Linked DNA regions of Homo sapiens: all the other regions are linked to region 2. The links are contacts of gene promoters, found by promoter capture Hi-C in blood cells and fetal thymus (Javierre and others, 2016). All regions are on one chromosome and are shown on one strand. Each heading gives the region's core, a stretch centred on a gene start or on the middle of the fragment in contact. The rest is flanking DNA. Distances are from core to core; before and after follow the strand shown.

What was found. The method cuts DNA at HindIII sites, captures the fragments that hold promoters and counts their contacts. A CHiCAGO score of 5 or more calls a contact.
Region 1: a fragment that was not itself captured here is called in contact with the fragment with the promoter of PCDHB7 in region 2 in 3 of 17 cell types (erythroblasts, fetal thymus and total CD4 T cells); the score reaches 6.1 in erythroblasts.
Region 3: a fragment that was not itself captured here is called in contact with the fragment with the promoter of PCDHB7 in region 2 in 4 of 17 cell types (monocytes, M1 macrophages, M0 macrophages and 1 more); the score reaches 8.1 in monocytes.
Region 4: a fragment that was not itself captured here is called in contact with the fragment with the promoter of PCDHB7 in region 2 in 5 of 17 cell types (non-activated CD4 T cells, naive CD4 T cells, naive CD8 T cells and 2 more); the score reaches 6.5 in non-activated CD4 T cells.
Region 5: a contact is called between a fragment that was not itself captured here and the fragment with the promoter of PCDHB7 in region 2, in 1 of 17 cell types (erythroblasts). The highest score is 6.8, in erythroblasts.

What each region holds. Positions count from the first base shown.
Region 1 is chr5:141,442,216-141,444,915 of GRCh38, reverse strand. The region is part of intron 1 of PCDHGA1 (protocadherin gamma subfamily A, 1); the gene reads right to left. The region is part of intron 1 of PCDHGA2 (protocadherin gamma subfamily A, 2); the gene reads right to left. All of the region lies in intron 1 of PCDHGA3 (protocadherin gamma subfamily A, 3), which reads right to left. The region is part of intron 1 of PCDHGB1 (protocadherin gamma subfamily B, 1); the gene reads right to left. It also overlaps PCDHGA4, PCDHGB2, PCDHGA5, PCDHGB3, PCDHGA6 and PCDHGA7, and 11 more genes. Among named protein-coding and RNA genes, the nearest start is that of PCDHGA12, 13 kb to the right of the region's middle. RefSeq lists an enhancer at 2,490-2,700. The HindIII fragment of the contact is 218 bases long and covers 1,166-1,383 here.
Region 2 is chr5:141,171,252-141,173,951 of GRCh38, reverse strand. It overlaps PCDHB7 (protocadherin beta 7), which reads right to left and starts at 1,308. Exons shown (of 1, transcript NM_018940.4): 1 at 1-1,308. The coding sequence starts at 1,116. It also overlaps PCDHB@. The HindIII fragment of the contact is 10,030 bases long and covers 1-2,700 here.
Region 3 is chr5:140,886,065-140,888,764 of GRCh38, reverse strand. The region is part of intron 1 of PCDHA1 (protocadherin alpha 1); the gene reads right to left. The region is part of intron 1 of PCDHA2 (protocadherin alpha 2); the gene reads right to left. All of the region lies in intron 1 of PCDHA3 (protocadherin alpha 3), which reads right to left. All of the region lies in intron 1 of PCDHA4 (protocadherin alpha 4), which reads right to left. It also overlaps PCDHA5, PCDHA6, PCDHA7, PCDHA8, PCDHA9 and PCDHA10, and 4 more genes. Among named protein-coding and RNA genes, the nearest start is that of PCDHA13, 5.3 kb to the right of the region's middle. The HindIII fragment of the contact is 5,330 bases long and covers 1-2,700 here.
Region 4 is chr5:141,487,536-141,490,235 of GRCh38, reverse strand. All of the region lies in intron 1 of PCDHGA1 (protocadherin gamma subfamily A, 1), which reads right to left. All of the region lies in intron 1 of PCDHGA2 (protocadherin gamma subfamily A, 2), which reads right to left. All of the region lies in intron 1 of PCDHGA3 (protocadherin gamma subfamily A, 3), which reads right to left. The region is part of intron 1 of PCDHGB1 (protocadherin gamma subfamily B, 1); the gene reads right to left. It also overlaps PCDHGA4, PCDHGB2, PCDHGA5, PCDHGB3, PCDHGA6 and PCDHGA7, and 13 more genes. The HindIII fragment of the contact is 152 bases long and covers 1,360-1,511 here.
Region 5 is chr5:141,462,941-141,465,640 of GRCh38, reverse strand. The region is part of intron 1 of PCDHGA1 (protocadherin gamma subfamily A, 1); the gene reads right to left. The region is part of intron 1 of PCDHGA2 (protocadherin gamma subfamily A, 2); the gene reads right to left. All of the region lies in intron 1 of PCDHGA3 (protocadherin gamma subfamily A, 3), which reads right to left. All of the region lies in intron 1 of PCDHGB1 (protocadherin gamma subfamily B, 1), which reads right to left. It also overlaps PCDHGA4, PCDHGB2, PCDHGA5, PCDHGB3, PCDHGA6 and PCDHGA7, and 10 more genes. Among named protein-coding and RNA genes, the nearest start is that of PCDHGC3, 12 kb to the left of the region's middle. The HindIII fragment of the contact is 817 bases long and covers 1,022-1,838 here.

The DNA.
Region 1 (2,700 bases), core at 25-2,524, 270 kb before region 2:
AAAGGTATAGATGCAATGCCATCCCATTCAAAAATCCTACAAGCTTTGTCCTGTAGTAAGACTTTGTAGCAAGACTTACTATAAAGCTACAATAATTGAGACAGTGTGCTATTAGTAAAAGAATAGACAAATGAAACATGATCAAGAATATAGAAATAGAACTACATATATCAGTGAAATGACTTTCAACAAAGGCACCAAGCAAATTCAACAGAAAGAGGAAAATATTTTTAATAAATGGTATTGAAAAAAATGGGAAATAACTTCAACCCCTACCTCAATGAACTGGTGCATCATGCCACATGCAAAAATCAATTTTAAATAAGGTAAGTAGAAAGGAAGAGTCAAAAGTGTCAAATAAGTGCCTTTTGCTCACTAGACACAGTCACTGTCTCACCTACTATACTGCTAGAGCAAAGTATTACACAATATAAATCCAGTACGCGACCGGGCGCAGTGACTCATGCCTGTAATCCCAGCACTTTGGGAGGCCAAGGAGGGAAGATCACCTGAGGTTGGGAGTTCAAGACTAGCCTGACCAACATGGAGAAACCCCGTCTCTACTAAAAATACAAAATTAGCTGGGCGTGGTGGCACATGCCTGTAATCCTAGCTACTAGGGAGGCTGAGGCAGGAGAATCACTTGAACCTGGGAGGCGGAGGTTGCAGTGAGCCGAGAGCATGCCATTGCACTCCAGCCTGGGCAACAAGAGTGAAACTCCATCTCAAAAAAAAAAAAAAAAAAAAAAAAAAAAAAAAAAAATCCAGTACACACAAGTGACACATATCTGTTGAGATACTTCACTTTTCTTGGTTTCCAATCCTTAGCAGACTTTTCAGGTGAGCATCAGAATCTAGATTGAAGATGCCAAATTATCTGATTTACTGAATTCCTTTTAGAAGCCAATACCCAGGTAGCATTTAAAATAAAATTAACATAGCTTAGATGGACCACAGAATACATACCAATAAGGAAACCTGCTGTGAGTAGTCAGACACACTTTTATGAATTTTCCTACTAATATTCCTTTTCTCTTGACTTATCAGTAATTTTTTCAGTTTTCAGACTTTCCATATTACCCATTTTACCTAATTATGTTTTCCAAAGGTAACTGTTTCCTTTTCATTTTTTTTGTCTTTTTGGTAATATTGTATATTGTAAGCTTCCAATTCACTGATAGGGAAATGTATGAGGAATTTTATATGCAAATGTTATTCTATAATTTTTGAAGTGTTTGTAAACTACTAGTTCAGTAAAATGCTATGCTAACATTATCTGGATCAATTTTTACAATCACCTGATTATAAGAACATTTCATATACCACATTCTGTTTTAGCTCAAGTCCATTTAAAGCATTTGAATTGGAACAATTTCCCAAGCTTTAAATAAGTCATAAGGAGAGAAGCTCTTTATTTGTTTGTTTGTTTTGGGACAGGGTCTAATTCTGTCACCCAGACTGGAGTACAGGAGCGCAACCACAGCTCACTGCAGCTTCAATCTCCCCAGACTCAGGTGATCCTCACACCTCAGCCTCCCAAGTAGCTGAGACCACAGGCATGGACCACTAAACCTTGTTAATTTTTGTTTTTTTTTTTTGTAGAGATGGGTTTTTGCCATGCTGTCCAGGCTGGTCTCAAACTCCTGGGCTCAAGTGATCCACCCGCCTTGGCGCCCCAAAGTGCTAAGATTATAGATGCGCCTGGCGAGACAAGCTCTTTGTACTATAGAGAATGATGCAGTGGACATGGGTAGGGAAATAAAATGCAGTATAACTTATGATAGTGTTCTTAATCTGGTTTGAAAAGCAAGGTTCAGCTTGAGAAGGAGACTGGAACACTCAGTCATAAGACGCTCTTCAGTGGAACAATAATTTTCAAAGTTTAGGTCTGGCAACTTCCATTAGTCATATTCTTAGATTTACTGAAATTATAGGCTAACTTTATCAGCCAGAATGTCTTTTTGCAGTGAGAGGAAGTTTCTTAAATAGAAAATGAAACAGTTGTGTGCTGAAGGAGAAGTGATAAGCAGGGATTCTGAGTTGTAAATTTACATCTCTCATACTACAATGGCCAAGATTTGTCCCTCCCTTATTTTTGGATCAGTACAATTTGAATATCAAAGTAAAATTATAAAATATAATCAAACACATACAAATATATATAATCAAAACATGCTCCTTACCTACAGGCCCCAAATGCTCTGGCATGTCTGATACTCTTGTCTGCCTGACTACTGTCCCTCAAGCTCACCATGCCAAATATTTCTCATCTTAGGCCTTTGGTCTTGCTGCTAGAAATGCTTTTTACTGAGATCTCTGAAAATATTTAATGCTAGAAGAAAACCTGCTTGTGACTGAACTTAGTTTCATCAAGAATTTTTCACCTTGGAGAGTGGATTCTGCCCAAGCAATTAGAATAATCACAATCATCCCCTTCCCCAAGGGGCTTTCTGCAGTGAAACTGCTATTGAGTCCTGAGGGGTAGGGATTCAAAAAAGAAGTTCACTCAGCCCTGGATTCGTAGGAGAAGCACACACCTGGTAGGAATATGGCATCATAGAGCTACAGTTACCCAGAAACCTGGGGCTTAGCGCGGGATAGACATCCGTGGGAAAGACTCAGACAGGATCATTTTGGGGTCTTCGGCACTTTAAAACCAGCACAAACAATGCAATCAGGAAGAATAAAAAGGAAATTAAA
Region 2 (2,700 bases), core at 59-2,558:
GTCTCTAATCCTAAAAACAGCCACGACTGTCTCGGGTGAGTTTTCTGCAATTGGGCTAGTAAGTGAAGACAGGAGCAGCTCGGGTCGATTATCGTTTATATCTGTTACATCAACCACTACAGTGCATTTTCCAGAAAGCCCGCCGCCGTCTTTGGCCTGAATAGTTAATGTGTAAGTTTGAATTGCCTCATAGTCCAATTGCGCTTTAAGATGAAGACTGCCAGATGTTGGATTGATTTGAAACGTTTTGAGAATTCTTTCAGTGGCGTAAGAAAATGCATAGGCTATTTCCCCATTACTTCCGGTATCTAAATCTCTGGCTGACACGGAGACAACCATGGAACCAACGGGGCTATTTTCGGGCACCTGCACCTTGTAGAGCGACCGCACAAAATCAGGGGCGTTGTCATTTACGTCTAGAACCAGAATGCGCACGAGGGCGGTCCCTGATCTTGGAGGAGAGCCGCCGTCTAAAGCGGTGAGGGTTAAACTGAACTCTGGTATCTCTTCCCGATCCAGCACTTGATTCAGCACCAATTCGGGATAGATATTCCCCTCCCCGCTATCATGGACATTAATATGGAAATAGGCATTGGGGCTGATGGTGTAGTTACTCAGGCTGTTGGTTCCAACATCTGAATCCTGTGCACTCTCTAGGAGAAATGCCGCCCCTGGAGTGGTACTTTCTAATATTTTCAAGGAAATCTCTCTGTCTAGAAATACTGGAGCGTGATCATTGATGTCTCTGACCCATAGTTCAGCACGGAAAATCTGAAAAGGTTTTTCCAATAACAACTGGAAAGGCAGCACACAGGGCTCTCTGGGGCCACACAGTTCCTCTCGGTCCAATTTCTCATTTAGAAGTAGATCACCAGTAAGCGAACTGAGCAGTAAAATTTGCATGTTCTGGTCTGAAACAATTCTAGTTCCCCGGGCTCTCAGTTCCCCTACCCCTAACCCTAGGTCTTTTGCCAAGTTGGTAAGAAAGGTGCCTCTCTCGGTTTCCTCCGCCACAAAATACCGAAGCGGTTCGGCGCCAGCCCAAGACATTCCCAGAAATACACAAAGAAATAAGACTTGCCTTTTCTGCACAGCACGCTCCACTCTGGCCTCCATTCTTCTTTGGATCAGTCTTTCAAAATGACTTTCACTCAGCCTCCAGCGGCTCTCACAAATGGCAGCAGCGGAATCCTTTGAAATGAGCTGAATAATAGCAATGTTTGTGGGGAAGGATCCTCATTTTACCCCAATTCCTATTACCACTGTTTCCTTTCCTATGCTTTTCTCTTCAGATTGCCTCTTTGCTCTGGAATCTGTAACATCCTTTCTTTGTGAAATTATTTTTCTCTCTCTCTTTTTAGCCAGCAGCGCCACCTTGCGTTTTGTGGATGTTATTCCCGTTATCAAGACTAGAACAAAAAGATGGCGGATTGAAGGAATTCTGCAACAAGAATGATTTGTCCCCGGTATCTTTGCTGTTTCATTCCATCTTTATCCTCAAATGGTCACAGTAATGCTAGTAAGTAATAGCTGATGTCGTTTTCCCCTGTGATAATCTGGATTCGTAGAAGAATTAATTTATAGTCTTCTTAAATCTAGGAGCATGAAACTAAACTCTGACTCCCCACCGAAATCCTAAGAAAATCTCCTATTTTAAAAATGGATAGTAAAAATATATATGAGAAAATGAAACCTCCTCCTTGAAGTCAACAAATATTGGTTGGGGACATTTTATTTATTTGTAAAGTATTTAACAATAATAATGTGAATATGGCAGAATAATTGACCCTTTTCCCAATTTCTTGTGAATTAAACAATTATTCCACTTTCCAGGTCTTAACTCTTTACCTGTGATATTTCTTGGAACACTTTATGCCTCCCCCAAACCCAACCTTCATCCTTCACCTGATTTAAGTATTACATAAGAAATTATTGTTCCTCTATAATTTCAGTGACTAGAATCTCCAATGTCCAATGAATACTCTTAAAATTAGTAGTAGCAAGTTGGTCAATCTTGCATTTGTGGAAGTGCTTCTAGCATTTCATCTTCAACTATGATGGTTGATCTCAATTTGGGGTAAATATTCCTTTTTTGAATCAATAAAGTTTTCTTTTTATTCTTTCATATTTTGAAGTGATTTTTGATAGCTGTTGAAATAATACATTTATTCTTTAGTTTCTAAATTACTGAGTTATTGATATAAATGACATTTAACCATAATGTATTATTGTTTTAGTGCACAGATAGATATGATGTGTCAACATGGTTTTAGGATTTTTCTAGTTAATGTTGTTTACCTAGTGCGTGTTTGCCTTTTATGGCCTTGGTATTAAACTATTATACTGGCATCATAGAATGTGTTAGGGAGCTTTTTATCTATTTTATACAATAGTTTTAATAATTATATTATTATATGTTTCTACATGCTTAATTCCAGCTTGTCTTTTAAACTGGTTGGGTTTGGTGACTTCACTTGCAGTAGATCAGTGACTACCATTTACATTTTACCTTTGGTTATTAATCTGTTCAGGTTTTGTATTTTTAAGTAACTTGCATTTTATTTTGAAAATCATTTTATCTAGTTTGCAAATTTCTTGGAATTGTTTTCATTGCGTTATTTACCTTTAATTGTATCCCTATTTTTATTAGTGATGTTTAGCATTTTAACTCCTTTTTATTCTTGGTGAGACTTGCAAGAG
Region 3 (2,700 bases), core at 185-2,684, 290 kb after region 2:
AAAAAAAAAAGTGGGTAGAATAATTCCTAGAGCTCACAAAGGGCTGGAAATATTTCACATTCCTACCAATCAGAGAAGAGAGACCTCTTAATGCACAGGGCATTAGGTGGTGTCCTCAGGAAAGTATTGCTGTAATAGAAGGCCGAATTAGTGCTACACTAAAAGCTGCTCTGAATGTGTACTAACAAATCTTAAAATGAAGCCTTGAAAGGAATAAATTGGTACTGAGCAACTTAACTTCACGTCAGAACTAAGTCCAAGACTCTTTAAAGCAGAGTTTCTCAACAGTGGAACTACTGACATTTTGAGCTAATTCTTTATTGTTGGGCGGCTGTCCTGTGCACGGTAGGATGTTTGGCAGCAATTGGATGGTGTTTAGCAGCATCTCAGAGCTCCATTATTAGATGCCAGTAGCAATTCCCTAGTTGTAATAACCAAAAATGTATCCAGGCATTGCCAAATTATCTCCTGGGTAGGGGGTAGAGGGGACAAAACTGTTTCTTATCAAGAACTACTGCTTTAAAGGAACACGCACACACATGCACACACACACAAAATCCAGCATCCGACAATGTAAAATTCACAATGTCTAGCATCTTATTAGAGATTACCAGTCATGCAAAACAGCAAGAAAATATATCCATAGAAGAAGATAGATTAAAAGAAGCAAACTAAGGACAAAAATGTTGAAATTAGCAGACAAGAAAGTTAAAACATCTATTATACATGTACTAATATGCTCAAACATATAGATAAAAAGATGACTATTCGGTGGAGACATGTAAAATAAATTTTAAAAGAGACAAAAAGAATCTTATACAGATAAGAAATAAATATGGTCTCTGAAATGAAGAATACACTGTTTAGGATTAACAGATATGATACTACAAAAGGAAAAATTAGTGAACTTGGAAAATATGTCAATAAAAGATATTCAAAATGAGGCACAGAGAAAGAAATGGACAAAAATAAAGAACGCTTCAATGACCTGTGTCATTGTAACATATGTGTTACTGGAGTCTCAGAAAGGATGGAAGGAAAGAAAAAACTATTAGAAGAAGTATGGTTGATTTTTTCCTGAATTTGATGAAAATGATAAATCCACAGATCCAAGAATATCAACAAACCCCAACAGACTAACATAAAGAAAACCATACTAAAGCACATCACAATCAATCTGCAAAAGTCAGGATAAAAAGAAAAGTTTTAACAGTAACCATGAGGGGTGGGGAGAGGAAGACTCATATATAAAAAAGCAAACATCTTATTAGAAACTATGCAAGCCAGAAGACAACTGAATTATATCTTTTAAAAAACTGTCAACTATGCCCAGTGAAAATACTTTTTCAAAAATAAAAATGAGATAAAGAGCCGGGCGCGGTGGCTCACACCTGTAATCCCAGCACTTTGGGAGGCCGAGCCAGGTGGATCACGAGGTCAGGAGTTCGAGACTATCCTGGCTAACAAGATGAAACCCCATCTCTACTAAAAATACAAAAAATTAGCAGGGCGTGGTGGCGGGCGCCGGTAGTCTCAGCTACTCGGGAGGCTGAGGCAGGAGAATGGCGTGAACCCGGGAGGTGGAGCTTGCAGTGAGCCGAGATCACGCCACTGTACTCCAGCCTGGGCGACAGAGTGAGACTCCGTCTCAAAAAAAAAAAAAGAGATAAAGATATTTCTCAGACAAAAGCTGAGTGAATTTGTTGCCAGAACATATGCACTATAAAAAATATTAAAGAAATTTTTCAGGCAGTAGGAAAGTGATACCAACTGGAAATTTGGATTTACAAAATAATAAATTTCGTTGCTAAATGTCTAATGTGTAGAACATGCCTGGCACATAGAGAACACTCAATAAGTATTTATTAAATGCATTTAATTAATGAATGTTCAATATAGGAGTTGGGAAGACCTTTCTTTTTTTTTTTTTTTTTTTTCAAGACGAAGTCTTGCTCTGTCACCCAGAGCTGGAGTACAGTAGCATGATCTCATCTCACTGCAACCTCCACCTCCCGGGTTCAAGCAATTCTCTTGCTTCAGCCTCCCAAGTAGCTGGGATTACAGGCGCGTGCCACCATGCCTCGCTAATTTTTGTATTTTTAGTAGAGACAGGGTTTCACCATGTTGGCCAGGCTGGTCTCGGACTCCTGATCTCCTGATCCGCCCACCTTGGCCTCCCAAAGTGCTGGGATTACAGGCGTGAGCCACCGTGCCCAGCTGGGAAGACCTTTCTAACTGAATATGCAGACCTTAAAATCCATAAAAGGAAAAAGATATATTTTAATTCATACATTTTAAAAACATTTATATATGACAAAATTAGTACAAACAAATGAATAGAAATAATATAGGAGGAAAACATATTTGTGATGCAGATAATAGATAAGCACACCATGGCATGTACACCTATGTAACAAACCTGCACGTTCTGCACATGTATCCCAGAACTTAAAGTGTAATAAAAAATAAATAAATATAAAAATAATTTTAAAAAATTTTATCTATAAATAGAGATACTTTTATTTATTTCTGAAGTAAAAGTAACAAAATTAGAGAAATGGAGAACAGATTACTGCTTGCCAGCATTAGGCAGGGAAGCAGATGTGGCTATAAAAAGGTGATATCAAGAATCTGGTTGTTACGGAACTATGTTACTTCTTTACTGTATCAATGTCAATATCCAGGTTGTGGTATGGCCCT
Region 4 (2,700 bases), core at 186-2,685, 320 kb before region 2:
CCCTCCATGGCAGGCTGTCCCTGGTCACGGGCTCTTGCATGAATTTCATAGAAACGTGACTCCTCAAAGTCTATGGGACCCAACACATGGATTGCCCCACTGCTAGGGTCTAGGCCAAAGAGGTTCCGCACTGCCTCAGATGTGTGGTCTCCAAAAGAATAGTCTAGTTGGCCGTTGGTGCCCTCGTCTGGATCAGTGGCATTGAGGCGGAGCAGCAGAGTACCAATGGGTGCATTCTCTGGGATTCCCACACGTAGAACTGAGGATTGGAAGGTTGGAGCATTATCATTGATGTCCAGCACGATGACAGAGATAAGGGTGGTCCCTGAGCGGGCTGGGGTCCCCCCATCCACAGCAGTAAGCACCAGCTGATGTCTTGCCTGGGCTTCACGATCCAGCTGCTGCTCTAGCACCAGCTCTGGGAATGGCTTCCCATCTTTTAGGGTCTTCACATTCAGAGAGAAGTGGCTGTTGGGGCTTAGAGTGTAAAAGCTCACAGTATTGGTGCCCACATCCGGATCCTGGGCACTGTCCAGTGGGAATCGTGCCCCAGATGCTGCTGATTCTGAGATGCGCATCTCTCGCTCAGGGGTGGCAAAGCTAGGAGAGTTGTCATTGAGATCCAGGATCTCTACCTCTACACGGATTAGCTCCAGGGGGTGTTCAGTCACCACCTGCACTGGCAGCAGGCAGCTGGTGCTGGCTCCACATAGGCTTTCTCGGTCAATCTTTTGATTCACTGCCAGGGCACCACTCATCAAGCTCAGGGAAAAATAGCGCCCATTCTCCTCAGAGCCCAATTGCAGCCGCCGGCTCAACAGATCTGTCATCTTTAAGCCCAGATCCTGAGCAACATTCCCCACCAGCGTCCCCGGCTCAGACTCCTCCACCACTGAGTAACGAAGCTGCCCAGACACCCAGCCCCAGCAGCACAAGGACAACATGCACAGCACTTGCCATTTCCCAGCGAGCTGTGGGAGTGTCTTGGGCCCCATGACCCAGAAGTCCCTTTGTGGAGAGTAAGTCTGTGCTGTCCTGTCTCCAAGGTAGACCCAGGGCTTGGAATGCAGCAGCTGAAGTCTCTTATGTCTCCTTCCAGCCTCTTAAAAACTGCTCGGAGGTTTGCCTGCTTGCAGCAGTTCTTAGTCACCGAGTGGCGGGGGTGGGCAGGGGGGAGGGGAGCTGAATTTGAGTGGAGCTGGGGAGCTGGAGGAGGAGAGGCGGGCTGGAAGAGCAGATCTCCCACCTCAGCTCTGAGTCTGATTGGCCAAAAAGTCTGTGTGCTCTCAACCAATTATGGAGTTTCCTCAATCCTGGAAACCTTGGGAACACAGGCTGCAAATCTGTGTCACAGAAGCTTCCTACCTCCCCACTCACTTCGTGCTGCAGGTTGATTCAGCCCCCTTGGCAGCAAAGTTTGACAGCTCAGATGGTACTCAACAGGGAAGACAAAGTGATACAAAACTCCTCAGCGTTCTGTCCCAGCAACTTCCTGCATGACTTCAGAAGCTTCCACCACTTTGCTTGAACCAGCAAAATCTTGTCCTTCTGGGAGAGGCAAAGCCCATGTATTCCCCCACCCTCCCCCATCCTGCTGAATGCTGCTAAGGTGAGAGAAAAGATTAGTAAGAACCTTGTAAAGTCTTGCCCTGACTCTCCAGCAATGCTTTGCGGAAATCTCAATGTCAGCTGACATGGGACTTAGCTTTTCTGACACCCCAGACCCCAAATGTGGAATGAGTGTTACAGTTTTTGGGTAGGGGAACATTTCTGGGGCTGAATCAGGTCACCCAGGAGGGTGGTCAGAGGCCAAGCATGGATGGCTTGGCTTCTAGGTTTCATGGTTTCACCAAATTCAGGAGAACTCAACTTAAAGATGCACAGGGTGGCTGTTTCTATGAATCAGCCAACTGTAAACCAGTTTTCTGACATAAGTGATTTCACTTACTGTTTTTTCCAAAGGTGATGACCAACCCGCCCCAACCTTCCAATTTACCGCATCTAGTTCAAATCCCCAGTAGGGACTTGATATGAGTCCTAAGACCCAGACCAAAAGATCTATGCCACCACTCTGATGCGTGCCTCTCTATTCCTTTAGTTCTCTCCTCTTTCTGCTGTCTCTATGTTTCAAATAGAGAGGTCCCTTCACAGTGTACTAGATACTGGGAGACAAAGATTTTATTTCCCCTCAATCCCTTGGGAAATGGTAACCTAGAGTTAAGGTACTTCAGAATCTGATCCCCTCTTTCAGGAAGAGTAGAGAAAACAGCCACCTTTGTCCAAGTGACTGCCTGGTGCACTGTACCCTGTGCACTGTAGCCTCCTGTGCTCCCACATTCCATCATCATGCTTCCACAACAGCCTGGCTCTTGATCACCAATTACTTTCATTTCTTACTCAGATATAGGCATGACCCGCCCCCAATGCTAAACTGTGACAACTCTGGTTAATTCACGAAACAGTTACAAAGCACAGCGTCTACCACATAGTTACCTCTTACAAAAATGGTGACATCACTATGGGCACTTACTGAGAGGCCAGTACTCTCTAGGACATGGCCTAGCCATATGCCTGGATCAGAATAACCCTCAAGCATTTGTTGAGCCTGCAAAGGTCTCACCTCTAGCCCATAGAGAAGATCAGAGGGTGGGCAGCTTGGGCGAACAGGCTCCCCTGCCATAGGTGCACTGGGTGACTTCA
Region 5 (2,700 bases), core at 181-2,680, 290 kb before region 2:
CAAAGCATTTTGCTGGTTGACTTCCTGGAGGGCCAAAGAGTGATAAGATCTGATTATTATGAGAGTGTTTTGAGAAAGTTACCAAAGCTTCAGCAGAAAAAATGCCTGGGAAAACTTCCCCAGAATCCTTCCTGACCACGACAATGCTCCCGCTCATTCCTCTCATGAAGCAAGGGCAATTTGGTGAGAGTTTTCTTGGGTAATCATTAAGTGCCCACCTTTCAGTGCTGATTTGGCTTCTTCTGACTTGTTTTTGTTCCTAATCTTACAACTTTAAAGGGCACCCATTTTTTCTTCAGTAACCAATATAAAAAATACTGCATTGACATGGCTAAATTCCCAGGACTCTCAGTTCTTTAGGGGTGAACTAAATGGCTAGTATCATTGCTTACAAAAGTGCCTTGAACTTGATGGAGCTCATGTTGAAAAATAAAGCTTATATTTTTATTTTTATCTTTTAATTAAATTTCTTCATAAACATTTAGAGTCCCTTCATATATCCCCTAAACTTTTTACAAATTTAGGCTAAAACACTTAAAAAAAAAACTACTAGAAAAATGAAAATAAGACATGAACAGACAATTCAAAAAAATATATAGGGTCATTTGTGGTGGTTCATGGCTGTAATCTTAGCACTTTGGGAGGCTGAGGTGGGAGGATCACTTGAAGCCAGTAGTTCAAGACAAGCCTGGGCAACATAGTGAGACCTCACATCTCTACAAAAAAATAAAAAAATTAGCTGGACATGGTGGCATCCATCTGTAGTCCTAGCTACTTGGGAGGCTAAGGTAGGAGGATTGCTTGAGCCCAGGAGTGCGAGGCTACAGTGAGCTATGACTGCATCACTGCAATTTGGCCTGGGCAACAGAACAAGATTCCTGTCTCTAAAAAAACAAAAAGATATAAACTGGCTTTTAAACATATGAAAAACTATTTAACCTCATTCATAATAAGAGAAATTTTAATTAAAATTATTTGGAGATATCTTTTTACCCATCAGGTTGGCAACAATTAAAAAGCTTGACAATATACTCTGCAAAGGAGACTATGGGACAATGGACATTCTCATCTATTTGTAGGAATGCAAGATGGGGAATAGCTATATTTAACAAAACTACATATGCCTTTACCTTATGATGCAGCAATCACACTATTAGGAATTTATTATACGTACATACTTCAAAAATAACAACAACAACAACAAACATATATATCTATATATATAGATATATATATATCTCAGGTTCTTCATTAGCATTTTTTATATTGCAAAAATATTGGATGGAAACTACCTAAATGACAAGTCATAGATGGGTTGAACAGATAATGATATGTGCACATACAATGGAGTTTTTTTTTTTGCTTTTTTTTTTTTTTAGACGGAGTCTCGCTCTGTAGCCCAGGCTGGAGTGCAGTGGCGCAATCTCAGCTCACTGCAATCTCCGCCTCCTGAAATCAAGCAATTCTCCTGCCTCAGCCTTCCAAGTAGCTGGGACTACAGGCGCCCACCACCACACCCAGCTAATTTTTGTATTTTTAGTAGAGACGGAGTTTCACCATGTTGGCCAGGCTGGCCTTGAACTCCTGACCTCAGGTGATCCACCCGCCTTGGCCTCCCAAAGTGTGGGATTACAAGCATGAGCCACTGCACCTGGTTTTTACAATGGAGTTTTATGAAGCTATTTTAAAAATGAAGATTTCTATAAATTTATATAGAATGATTTCCAGGATATATTATTAGTACAAAAAGCAAGGTGAAAACTTTTCCTTTCAGTCATGTGAAACCAGATATACCACTATAACAACTGGGAAGTGGATCAAAATGTGTGATAAAAGCTTTTAGACATTTGTTCAAAAGACAGTGCAGGATTCTAACCCATAAGAGAAGAGAAGCAGGCCGGGCGCGGTGGCTCATGCCTGTAATCCCAGCACTTTTGGAGGCCGAGGTGAGCAGATCACGAGGTCATCCAGACCATCCTGGCTAACACGGTGAAACCCCGTCTCTACTAAACAAAATACAAAAAATTAGCCGGGCATGGTGGCAGGCACCTGTAGTCCCAGCTACTCGGGAGGCTGAGGCAGGAGAATGGCATGAACCCGGGAGCCGGAGTTTCTAGTAAGCCGAGATCACGCCACGTCACTCCAGCCTGGGTGACAGAGCGAGACTCCATCTCAAAAAAAAAAAAAAAAAAAAAAAAAAAAGGAGAAGGAAATGAGGATCCGCAAACTAGGATCTCCATTTTTTTTGCCTGGAGACAACTTTCAGACTGTGGGGCAGGAAAGGGGAAATCCAAGAATAACACCATGGTTTTGCTGAGTTGAGGAATAGATATTAGAGTTTGGGGAGATTAGGAGATTGAGGCAGCCAGAATTTATGGGATAGAGTACTAAAGAGAATGGAGCTACACAAAGAACTCCAGGAATATTAATATGGATCCCCAAGTCTTTGGCTAAATAATAATCTGAGCATACATAGAGTGCACTGACACTTTTCTGCAGCTGGGCGAAGAACTGCCAGGGAGCTATTAGCTGAATTCTTGATGGTCACATAGGGCTGGAAAATGTTTGAATTTCATTTAGCCATAATAAAGAGACCCTGCTGAACACTCAGATTAATCAAAAAAGTCAGAATTAAGTGGTAGGTCTAAATTAGCCCAAGGCAAAAGTTACTACAGACCTGTCCTAACAAAGCTTAAAAAC